3 separate regions of the Homo sapiens genome follow, and regions 2 and 3 are each linked to region 1. The links are contacts of gene promoters, found by promoter capture Hi-C in blood cells and fetal thymus (Javierre and others, 2016). All regions are on one chromosome and are shown on one strand. The core of a region is centred on a gene start or on the middle of the fragment in contact, and the rest is flanking DNA. Distances in the headings are between cores, read along the strand shown. Region 1 holds the start of FANCB (FA complementation group B). Region 2 overlaps GEMIN8 (gem nuclear organelle associated protein 8). Region 3 has its middle 10 kb from the start of GEMIN8.

Region 1 (4,236 bases), core at 1,249-3,748:
CATAAAATTAAAACAGATGTGTGTGTATACTAGAAAAATGATAATATATACAAGCATATGCTAACATAAAAATAGTAGGCTGGCAATAAAATTATCATCCTCATCTACTCTTTACTGCCCCCCCTCTTAATAAATATGTTGTTCATTCTTTTTAAATGCTCATAAATCATTTTGGCCCTATAAATGTGACAATTCTTTAAATAAACTATCAGTGTGGTTCCAGATTATCCTAGAAGAGCAGATGACATCCAAAAAGTCTAAGAAACCATATTAACTGTGACCAAGAGAAAGTATCCTTGGGAAAAAAGTAAAATTAAGACACTCAACTAAAATGGCACCTAATAATACTGAACATAATTTTATGAAGATAATAATGATAGATGTTGTTTTTCCAAGACATATGACATTGTTAACCAAAGTAAATTAACTTTCCTACAAAATAGGGCCACTGTTAAAAGTTTTTTTCTCCCTACATAAGTTATTTATTGGGTCCTATACAGAATTGATCTCACCTTTTTCAACATTATCTAATATGCCTGAAATGTGAGTAAATGCGGGAGAATCGTGATCAACTAAATTAGAGGATTTGGGAAGATTACGCTAAAGAAGATTTTTATGTCATATTAAGGACTTATAAATTTCTCATATAAGTAATGATAACCCACTGAAAGACTTCAAAAACAGAAATCACAGGACTGTACTTTTGAGTTATGAAGATCCTGGTGACAGTGTTAAAGGTGTGAGTGAGATCAGACTGGAAAAAGAGCTAACAATTAGAAGAAAATTATGAGTACTTAAATAAAAGGGAGAGATGACTCTGAAGGTAATTTGGCAGTCAACTGAAATGCATATACCCAGTAGTTTCATTTGTAGATATAAACCCAGAGACATAATCCCACATATGAATGAATACATTGCTCTAGAAGCTCACTGTGCTGATATTTGCAATATAAAAAAAGTAAAAACCTCAATGAACACCAATAGGGGAATGAGTATAGATGGACTATCAAACAAGAGTTAAAAGGAATGAATTAGATCTATCTATCTATATATGTGTGTGTGTGTGTGTGTATATATATATATAATCATGGTTAAATTTCAAAAATAAAATGAATTAAAAATTAAGTTGCAGACAAATGTACACTGCAGCATATTATTTATGTAAAACAAATAAAACAGCATTATATATGTTCTATTTACCTACAATGACTACAGTCCCTGAGTGCTTTCTCAAGAAATAGTGCCATGTACTATTTTTTTTTTTTTTCCTGAAGAAACAGTGCCAGGTACTGCTCTAAGCACTTTGGATTAACTCGTTTCTTCCTCACAACATCCTTATGACATAGGCACTGTTACTATCCCATTTTATAGATGGAGAAACTGAGGCAAGGAGTTTCAGGATCTTCTCAAAGGCTTGCAGATAAGAAGTGACAGAGCCAGGATTCAAACCCAGGCAGTATGATCCAAAATAAAAAAATGTAAAACTGTAAACATTTCATGCCAAATTCTGAATGCTGTTGATTCTGGACAAGGAAGTGTCCAGGATAGGTGAGTAGAGGTAGAAGGAGACTTTAGTTATATCTGAAATATCTTTTAAGGATGTAGTCAAACAACGTTTAAACAATGTGTTCATTTTTTCCCATAAAAAATGTAAATATATTTAAAAGTCTAGGACAAAAGATGCTAACATGCCATTCTGTCATGGATGACTACGGTTGATGGAAATATGGGGGACTATTCTTACAACTTGTTTGTAGTTTTCAGTATCTTTCAACTTTAAAAAAGGCAATATTGTATGCGCAACTATTTTCTTTCAATTGTTTTTAACTGACGAATAAAATTTGTTCCAGTCCCTTTAAATCTAAATCTTTCTCAACCTTGACACTATTGACATTTTGGGCTGGATAACTGTTGTGAATTTTCATGTACACTGGAGGATGTTTGGCAGCTTCCCTGGTCTCTATCCACTAGTAGCCAGTGAGCATCTCTTTTGCCCCCGGCCCCTAGCAGTGGTGACTAAAAATGTCTCCAGAGGTTGCCAAAGGTCCCCTGGGTGGTAAAACCGCCCCCCCCACACACACCCCCCCACCCCCCCGGCTGAACACAACTACCTTAATAAGCCGAAACACGCTTTTTTTAACTTTATATAATTATTTGAGATTAAAGATTTCAGAGATATTTTGCTCATTAAGCATCTCACACTCCAAGTTGGAAGGATACTGAAGGGATGAAAAAAACTTCAAGCGAATGTAGCACTTAAAATCCAATTATCATTGCAAGGAATGACAGACCCAGGTCTCGGGATGCCCGCTTCCTTCCCTCTCTCCCGCAATGCGGGGACAAGGGGAGGAAATCCAGCCCCATCGCCCCCTCTGCGAAGTCCTGGGAAGGGAAGACTCGCCAGCCCCATCCTACCTCAACGCAGCGGCAACATACCGGAGGCCCCACGTCGATACGGTATCCATCTGCTCCAAACCTCCCGCCAGCGCGCTGCATCCTGGGAGGCCGGGCGGAGGCTGCGTCGAACGCAGAGGAGGCGGAGCCTAGAAGCCAGCCAGGAGAGGTGGCCAAGGGAGGCTGAGGAGGCGGGGCCCTGGGGAGTGTTGTGAAAGCAGAGAGCCCGCGAGCTCTCTAGGGCGGAGCTCCGCGGGGGAAGCGCCGGCGATCTCGCGGCTGGCGGGGGCGGGACCGCAGTGCGGGGGATGTCGCGGGGCGAGGCCAGACGAGAATCGAATGGGACCTAGGCTGAGGGCCTGGTCCCGCCTCCAGACCCAGGCGTCCGCATTGGATTGGGCGGTGCGGCGGCGCTTCTGTCCGCCTTCCGGTGTCACGCGACCGCCTCCCCCTCCCACCCTTCTCTGTCTACCTCTGGGCGGGACTGCCGGGTGATGAGATACTCGGTCGGCGACGGTAGAACGGGCGACGGCGACAACCGCAATCACATCCACGACGGTGATCATGGCAGAGGTGAGGAGCCTATTGCACCGCCGCTGGCCCCCCGGACCCGGAAGCCGCCTCTGAGGCCCGGGGACCGAGCGCCCGTGTGCAGGTGGGCTGGGTTGAGGGTAAGCGGGTTGATGCAAGTAGTATCTAAGGTCCCATCGTGTCTCCCATCCAGAATCACGCCCAGAATAAAGCCAAGCTCATCTCTGAGACCCGGAGGAGGTTCGAAGCTGAGTATGTGACAGGTGGGTACTCTGTTCCAGGTATTAAGAAAGGTGTGCAGTGAGCATCCCCAACTTTGCTGGAGTGTTTGTGAGTGTATTTGTGGGAGGTGTTAGGGACCCTTTCGACCCTCACAGGAATGATGCTGGGCACGTCTCAAAGGTTTTCCTCTCCATGACAAGCCGTGTGCACTGCTTCAAATGGTCAAGTGGTGTGTCCCATGCTCCCTTTAAAGGGTTAATGTAAGTTGGAAATCGGTTAAGTTTTTAGCATGCCCTCGTGTTTATGGAACTTGCAGGATACTTGTTAGGCCCACAACACGGGTGACATTGTCCAGTCCACGGTTCCACTGCTGGCCTTTCACCAGCAACACTAGCGAAAATGTACCTGGAAACTGCCATAATACTATTGATGTGTACTTAATTGGGTATACAAATTCCTTGGATATTTTGTTTGATTTGGCTTTCATACAACCCAGCATGCTACCCACAAAATAGGCCCTCCAATGCTGGAACAAGTTCTTATCCCAAACTGTATCTTGCAAAGTACCTATGAGTCCAGAATTGATTTATTGGTTGAACATTCTGTGTCCAGATGTCACAGATACTTGAGTTGTCAGGTACTTAACTGAATATTTAATGCTTGTACAGTAATTTTGTAAAACATACGGAATAACTTATTGTAAATATGGAATTAAATAAGGATTTATATGTTGCCTACCTTAAGATTGATTGTAATCCTAACCCTGCCACTACATAGCTTACTTGTCTATTCTGAGCCCGTTTTCATATCTGTGAAGTGCAAATAATAAAGTTAGTAGGATTAAATTTTTTAAAAAAACATAAACCATCTAGCATGTCTTAAAATATAGTGGATTCTCAGTGAATATTTTGCCTCAGTTGTCATTTTGGTTACTGTGAAAGGAGTTAAGCTTCTACATCTTGACTAGTACTCAGCAGAGGTTCCCTGCAACTTTAAACCATCCTAGATTATACATCAGTTGATGACATAGAACAAATATGGAAATCGGTTTCAAATACTTGTCAGTAAATCTTTTCATACCTCCTTGCC
Region 2 (4,236 bases), core at 1,272-3,771, 860 kb before region 1:
TTTTTGTAAACAGCTCTTTTCCTTCCAGATGCTGTTAAAGAACAATAATGACAACTCGGGGATTGAGAAACAGATGCTCAAATCTCACTAGGTGCTGGGCAGAACTCCCTTCCCTGTGGGTTCCTCAGAGCCTCCCAGGCAGAGGGGCTATGGGGGGGGGCACCAATGAGTTGGGGTCGGACCCTGTTCTCTTACATTCGAATTGCTTTGCCTCTACTTACTCACACAATTTTTTAAAAAGTCCTAAGGCTAGGCTACAAGTTGAAAACCAGTCAGTTTAAAACCAAATAACTGCAGACAGGCTGTGCACTGATGGTCACAGCCAGCATGTGAAAGTACTTTAGCGTGTACTGACTTAGGGGACCAAGTAAACCTCAGAATGGAGTATCAGAGTTTGAAGGCATCCACTCATTCTGTTTTCTATTTATTGCTTCCTTCCTTCCTTCCAACGAAAACGGATTCTCAATCACTGGCAGTTTTCCTTGCTGTCAAAACAAGGTGAGCGCTCAGCCAGCCAGATGGAAAATCATCTGACCAAAGCAGACCAGTACGGACATCACACTTCAGATGCCAATGAACAGTTGCCTTGTCATGGAGGGTTTGGTCATTTTTATTGGAAACAGCTGTAGGACTCAATGTTGCCATACACTTTTATAGGGTATTTTGGCAAGATAATTTGTTTTAATATGAATCAGAAATCTTTTTTGATTCTATTCCAGCTTCAAAATAGGATTGTAGTGGGTTGAATAGTGTCACTTCAAATCCATGTCCACCTGGAACCACAGAAGGTGACCTTATTTGGAAATAGGGCTTTGTAGATGTAATTAAAGGATCAAGATGAGATCATACTGGATTAGGGTGGACCCTAACTCCAATGACAAAGTCCTTGTATGAGACAGAAAAGGACACACAGACACAGGGGAAAGGCCACATGAAGATGGAGGCAGAGATGGAATGATGCTGCCACAAGCCAAGGAACACCAGGAAACACCAGAAGTTGGAAGAGGTGAGGCCCTACAGCCTTCAGAGGGCGTGTGGTCCTGTTGACCGCTTGATTTGAGAACTGTGAGAGAATAAATCTGTTTTTTTTTTTTTTTTAATCCACCCAGGTTGTGTAATTTGTTACAGCAGCCCTGGGAGGCTAATACAAGGGTTAATATGCATATAGGTTAAAACAAGAACAATAGGCATGTATTATTAAGGAAAAGCTTTACTGGATTCCATCTGGGTTCAGGATACATAATCCTGGTATTTTTCACATCAATCTATTTGTCTACATGATGTGACCAATGTCACATCACGTAATAGTCCATAAAGGAAAAAAAAAATCATGGAAAGTTACCAGGACTTCAGAGAATCTTATATAGCAGGAAAACTTTCATCCAAGATTATTCCACACATAGAGCCCAAAGGCAGAACATGTTAGAGGATAAAGCATGGAGGCAGCAAGTGGCAAAGAATGTTTTTTCCCCTCACTTTCCTAGGACTAGTACATCTTTCTGATTATATTTTCTGCTATTTTGCCAAAATGAATAATTGTAGCACAACCGAGGGAAAGCACAAACTTGATGTATGCCATGAATGCCTCATTTCTGGCTTGTCAGCAACCACCCAGAACACAGGTACATGCCAGCAGAACTGGAGCCATTTCAGACTGGTCTTCTCTCTTCGTCGCACATCCCTTGCCCCATGACAAATGTAATCCTGAAGTTACTGGACAACCGCCATTTTTACTTTTACAACAGAAGTGCATTTTCATGTTCCTTTCCACTTTTCTACAGCCATTAACACGTATCATCTCACTGATCGGTTTTGTGCACCTGTGAATATCTGCACCAGATGAAACACACACGCATGTCAGGATTGTGCTCAATCACTGCAATTTCATCCTTCAACCTCATTGACTAAAGCAAGACAGCTCACTAAATACTGGGCCATAAACTTCACCGGGTTCTCTCTAGGTTTGACTGACTAAAGGCTCACTATGAAAACTACAGTCTCAGCCTTCCCACTCAGATGGACACAGTGTAATGGAGCAGATGTCTCCCCTCAAACGTATGAAAACCACATCTGGGCATATGAAAACCACATCTGGGCTCTCTGGTAAGAACAGCACTTTGAGTGTCTAAGCCGGGAGTGAACTAAGTCCTTTTTTCTCTCATTCCAAATTGACCCTATCCCTCAAATTGGCCTAGTGCATACCTTACTTCTTGACAGCTGCCCCGCGGTGCTCCTCCTTTGACTGCCTGGGTCACTGGCTCTACCCCTCATGTGCATGTATAACCATGAACCACACCATAGACACTCTTCTTCTATGTGTCACTTTACATTTCATTTTGTCTCCTCTTCCCAATGGGGTTTAAGCTTTTAGAATATGTCCCTGTTTTGAGCCAACACCCTCAAAACATAGGTCATAAATACCTGATTGGCTCAAACCCGAGAAAACAGTGGTGGTGTTTGTTTCAGAGGGCCTTACTCTCTTTTGAGGGTGACTTCCACTCATTTTCCCTCTAAGTATTAGCAATATAACCTTGCAGTCTCGACCAGTGGTCACTTATGACTACAAAATGGTATTTTTCTTAACCTAATAATAAACATTTTTCCTAAGAAATAATTGAAAACACAGCTGACCTTTAAAACTTCATAACTGTAAACTTTCTCATAAGTTATTTTCCATTGAAGCTTTAAGTAACGGAAATATCTTGTTAGGAAATGATGACAGACATAATCAAAAGCATGCATGTTCCCACTGTACAAAAGGAGTTCTTATCCTAGTCAAGCTTTTGGTGTTTTTTATCCTTGAAATATGTTAAAGTAGAGACTATCTGGAATCTGAGTAGCAATCACAAAAAAGAACATACTGTCCAATCTGAAGGCCTTTATCCTAAGAAAATATTAAACAAGACTCAGGCGATGATGAATTGCATAACTTGTATGTTCCTGTGGAAGTGAATAATACTGAAAAGTTAAATCTTTCAAATTTAGTGACATTTCCTCTTGCTAGTAACATTTTCTAAAATCCTGTGTTCTTCAAAGCATTCATGTTCAAAGCTGAAAATGTCCTTATTGAATAAGTAGCTTCTAGTGGTTTTGAGAGCAAAATGAAACAAAAAACTTGAACCAATTATTCATACTACCCAGGTCCCTTATCTCTTTATTAAAGCTTTTTCCAACAGTGTATGTAACTAACCCTCCATGAAAATTTCTGGTGAAGGTAATGAATTGGAAAGCGCCATGGGCACTCAGATTACTTACATATGAATTCCATCATTCATTACCGCTTGAAGAACAGTTGTTCATCCTGTACTCACCAAAAGTGCTGCTGAAAAAAATAATGCTAGTGATCTATTGCCCATTATTTTCTTACTGGTGCAAGATCGGGCCCTGGCAGCTGCTTCTAATATAGACGAAGTCTTTAGATTCCAGTCTGACACCACAGTCTGTTCTCACCCTCACCAGACAATTCTCACATCTCCCTGGGACCAGCTAATGCATTCAGGGAAGGCTGTAGGAGCATGACACAGACGCTAAGAAAAGTAGTTTTGAATCATGCTGTAACTACACATTTTAAAAATACAAAGAATTGAAAGCTTGTTTAGGGACATTATTAGTAATATTGAAGTGGGTTAATTTTCCCAGTCCATGTACTTTACTGCATTAAATTTTATCAAGCAAGAATATCCTTGAAACAGAACTAAAAACTGTGTTAATTGCTAAATTTGATAGACACCAAAACTTTCATTCTTTCATGTCTTTAATATTCTAAATCAGTTTAAAAGTTTGAAAGGTGCCACCCAGAGCAGAAATATGACCTTTCTGAAGTCACAGAACATCTTATTAAAAATATGCAGAATCTTAGCTGGGCGCGGTAGCTCATGCCTATAATCCAGCACTTTGGGAGGCCGAGGCAGGTGGATCACCTGAGGTCAGGAGTTCAAGACCACTCTGGACAACATGGTGAAACACCATCTCTACTACTAATAAAAAAATTAGCTGGGTGTGGTGGTTGGCGCCTGAAATCCCAGCTACTTGGGAGGCCGAGGCAGGAGAATCACTTGAACCCGGGAGGCATAGGTTGTAGTGAGCTGAGATGGCGCCACTGTACTCTAGCCTGGGTGACAGAGTAAGAATCTGTCTCAAAAAAAAAAAAAAAAAAAAAAATATATATATATATATATATATATATGTACAGAATCTCAATCAAGCACTAATCAAGGCAAACGGTATCAGAGAAAA
Region 3 (4,236 bases), core at 581-3,080, 830 kb before region 1:
CGCCATGGAATACTACACAGCCATAACAAATAATGAAATTATGTCCTTTGCAGAAACATGGATGCAGATGGAGGTGATTATCCTAAGTGAACTAATGCAGGAATGGAAAACCAAATATCACATGTTCTCACTTATAAGTGAGAGCTAAACATTGGACACACATGGACATAAAGATGGGAACAATAGACACCAGGGAATACAAGAGGAGGGAGACATGGAGGGAAGAAAGGATTGAAATACTACCTGTTAGGTACTATGCTCACTTCCTGGGTGATGGTTTCAATTGTACTGCAAACCTCAGCATCATGCAATACACATTTGTAACAAACCTGCGTGTGTACCCCCAAATCTAAAACAAAAGTTGAAAAACAAAACCAAAACACCCCCCCCCAAAAAAAAGAATGACCTCAGACCAACACCTATGAAAGGGAAAGGAAAGCACGAGATTGGATAGAACAGGGTTTTTCAACTGTGGCATAGAGACATTTCAGACTAGGTGTAACACTTTGTTGTGGGGCTGTCCTGTGCACTATGGGATGCATAGCAGTATCCCTGGGCTCTACCCACTAGATGCCAGTAGCACACATACACACCTCCCTCCCCTTCAGTTGTGATGACCAAAAGTGTTTTCAGACATTGCAAAATATGCTGGTGGTGGGGAAGGAGGGGATAGCAAATTGCCCTCAGTTGAAAACCACTGGGGTAGAGAGAAGGGCTGAGCTTGAATGTGTGCCTAACAACTGTGGTAAACCCCAGGGGATTTAGGGAGCCAGAATGGCCCTTCTGAGTTGTAGAAAGTTGGGCTGATATGGTGGGCACTTTTTTCTCCAGCATGGATCAGTCATTGGATGTGGGCTCCTGAAAAGGGGTGTGACATTGCGTAAGGAGGCTCTCTGTGACTGGAGCCGCAAGTTCCTCATTGAAGGGGAATCTGGAACATCCCAGTGTTCATGGCATGTGCTACTCTGCAGTTGTTCATTTACTTCTCACCATTTTCCATTTAATAATAAAATTCTTGAGAATTGAGACCACATATTATTTTGTTGTGTATCATTGAAATCCAGTATGCTACATGGGAATAAATATTTTTAAATAATGAAACGAAATGAGACAATAATTGGGTGGATATTTGTAAACTTAAATATGATAATAAATGGTTTCATTATGCATTTTATTGAGATATGAGAAACTTTCAAGAGATTTATCCATATTTATATTTAGTTATGAGTTCTTTTTTGAGAAGTAACAATTTACTCAGCTGACAGCACTAAACAGTACTGAGCTAATCTTTAACAATGTTTTGATTTCTGTAAATGAGATTATCAGTAATTTAAAAAGAGGATTAGGAAGTTTGTGTGGGATAGAACCAACTAATTGCTGAAATATACACAGAATTCAAGTATTGAAAAGTTTTACTTTAAAAAGATGTGATTATAAAGCATTGTTTCCTATGTATAGCCCTGTAAAATAATACCCATGTGCATCCGGCAGAGGGCACAATTGTACAAAGTATTGGAGAAATGCTTTTAAAAGGAAGTGCATTAATCTCTCAGTCATAGGCTGTAGTGACACATGTCAGTCACATGTAAATGACTCTATACATCTAAAATTCAATAGTGTATTGTTTTTAGATGATATTTCACTACTGCGTTTCCAGCTCTATTCTTTCACATTGTTTTTAAAGTTACTACATCTTCAACAAAATCCGAATTAGGTTAAAATTAATCTCTAAATAATTTTCATTTCAACTGGCTAAAATAATTTGAGGCCAACAATGTGTAAGGCTTTTTTAGAGCATAATTTTACGTATGTTATGTTTTCTGTCCTCACAAGATATTTTATGGGTCATTGACATAGAAGCACAACTACATATACTGTGCAGAATCACCCTTCTACATTAAGAAAAAAAATCAGGTCCTGTCCCTGTATACTGTCAGATTTTTCTTGGCATGGATCTTGTACATGATGAGCTTGCACGGTGAAATGGATGAATCCCTGTCCGAGGGATGGAAGGTCTGTCTTTGTCCCTTCCTGGTTGTGTCACTACTTCTCAGAGCCTGCCTATCTTCATCTGTTAGTAGAGGAACAATGATGCCCACGGGGCCCTCTTCACACATGGGTGTTGTGAGTTCATGGTTTAAGAGCCATGATATCCACTCATTAGATGCATGTGCCATAGGACAGGAGTAACTGAGTAACTGAAGCAACAGCAGGCGTCAAGAAGTGTCCACTGGACGGTGGTCAGATTCTCTAGTTTTCCCTCTGCTAAGAGTTTGACTGAATGAATCTCTGGGTTCTTGGGCAATTCAGGGAAGTGGGGGAGAGTCAAGTGAGGAGTTAAATTTCTGCTAATCTGGGGAGGAGGGCTTTGACTGGTATTACAACCTCATTTTCACCACAACCTCGTAAAGCAAGTCACTGTTCAAATACATTTCTTAATTTAGATATATTTCTAATTTCACTTTGGTGAATTTATTGTTTGATAGTAATCCAAAACTACACAAGGACAGAATAGCTGTATATGTGAAGGTGTTTATTGCAGTATTGTTTATTGATAATTGGTAAAATTGAAAGCAATTTAGGAACATGGACTATTAGGCAGCCATCAAAATGAAAATTATGAATATTATATAGGCACATGGAAAGTATGTGATGAATGATAAGTCAAGTCAAAGCAAAATAAATCATATATTATGCTAATAGCTATGTAAAAGTTGAGAATATATGTGGTTGGGGAACAATGGCAAGAAAGATGGAATGGTAATAACTTCTAACCTGTCCAGGAGTTAGTAGCAGTCTTTGTGTGTGTGTCTCTCTCTTTCCCTCCTAAATCACATTATTGCGGTTATAGTATATTTGTAGAATGAGACACTTCTAAAGAGATTTTTCGTGCTTTGTTTGAAATACAGTAATGCCCAATTTGTCCAGTCTGTTAGGAAAGAAGTGGCCTATTTAAATGACTTATGAATCTTCTTTTCCCCATTAACTGATGTTTACTCCTCTAAACACAAAAACAACAACAACAAAACCATTTTGACTAGAAATCTTTCTAAAATCTATTGTGTACTTTCCTGTCTTCTCCAACAGTTTCCTGAGCACATTTTATTCTTGTCTTTATATCTCAGGCTTACCATGATGAATGTCAATTTCTCTCCCACACTAGAATGCAATGAGCAATACAAATATAGGGTTATTTGCCTCTACATGGCATGATCAAATCTCTTTTGAGTTTTGATTCCTTGGTTCTTATTTTTACATGTTTTCTTTTTTTGTTGTTTGTTCTTTTTCTCACTTTTAGTCTATCAGGTGTCATTTTAATGATTGTCAGTGTTCCAGCCTTTGGCAACCTATCCTTCCTAACCTGCCAACAAATTTGCTGCTTCTAACATGCCTTGTTAGGAAAATCACACAAACGAATTGACTAGAATTATGTGCAGAGAGCTCCAAAAGGTGTTCCATCTTATGTAAGTGTTTGGACAGTGGAGACATGGTGATACCTGTTTTGGTTGTTCAGAGATATTTTGCTTACTTCTCAGCTCTTGGCTGTTTTCTGGATGCGTTGAGGTCTCAGGGAGATGGCCTGTGTACAACAGACATGTTGCTTCAGGGAAAATAGAATACTGACTCACAGAAACAAAGCATAGTAGTCATAAATCCAGTTAACACCAACAAATCAATGGAAACTGAAAGCAGAGTCAAGAAATCAATAGTTATAAAAAAAAAACCCACACTTGGATTTGCTCCATTCTGTTTCCATGACACTTCATCCATTCCATTCATAGACTTCATCCTGGGACAAATTTACCTCCAGTTGAGAAAGAAGCAATGGAATGAGGAAAAGAAGAAATGATAAAAGATAAATTAGAGAATCATAATTTATGGAATTCAAGGATCTTTTCCTTCAGCCAATCAATAAATAGCCCATATTTCAAATATATAAGACATATTTTGAATGTGTAAAGCAGGTTGCTAGGTGCTGTGGAGACTCAAAAGAAGGATGTATTTATGCTCCCTACCCTCACTCATTTTTAATTAAAAAAATTTTTTTGAGATAGAGTCTTGCTGTGTCACCCAGGCTGGAGTGTAGTGGCATGATTACGGCTCACTGCAGCCTCGAACTCCTAGGGTCAAGTGATCCTCCCACCTCAGCCTCCCAAGTAGCTGGGACCACAGGCATACACCACTACGCCCAGCTAATTTTTGCATTTTTGGTAGAGATGAGTTTTTGCCATGTTT

Evidence for each region. Contacts are between HindIII fragments. The CHiCAGO score rates a contact against its expected background, and 5 or more counts as called.
Region 2: a fragment that was not itself captured here is called in contact with the fragment with the promoter of FANCB in region 1 in 1 of 17 cell types (total B cells); the score reaches 5.1 in total B cells.
Region 3: a fragment that was not itself captured here is called in contact with the fragment with the promoter of FANCB in region 1 in 2 of 17 cell types (M0 macrophages and total B cells); the score reaches 5.5 in M0 macrophages.

What each region holds. Positions count from the first base shown.
Region 1 is chrX:14,870,571-14,874,806 of GRCh38, forward strand. It overlaps FANCB (FA complementation group B), which reads right to left and starts at 2,499. Exons shown (of 10, transcript NM_001018113.3): 1 at 2,416-2,499. MOSPD2 (motile sperm domain containing 2) reads left to right here and starts at 2,851. Exons shown (of 15, transcript NM_152581.4): 1 at 2,851-2,967; 2 at 3,119-3,188. The coding sequence starts at 2,959. RefSeq lists a silencer at 2,589-2,818. The HindIII fragment of the contact is 4,870 bases long and covers 1-4,094 here.
Region 2 is chrX:14,012,707-14,016,942 of GRCh38, forward strand. The region is part of intron 4 of GEMIN8 (gem nuclear organelle associated protein 8); the gene reads right to left. Among named protein-coding and RNA genes, the nearest start is that of GEMIN8, 15 kb to the right of the region's middle. The HindIII fragment of the contact is 318 bases long and covers 2,363-2,680 here.
Region 3 is chrX:14,038,026-14,042,261 of GRCh38, forward strand. No RefSeq gene overlaps it. Among named protein-coding and RNA genes, the nearest start is that of GEMIN8, 10 kb to the left of the region's middle. The HindIII fragment of the contact is 7,534 bases long and covers 1-4,236 here.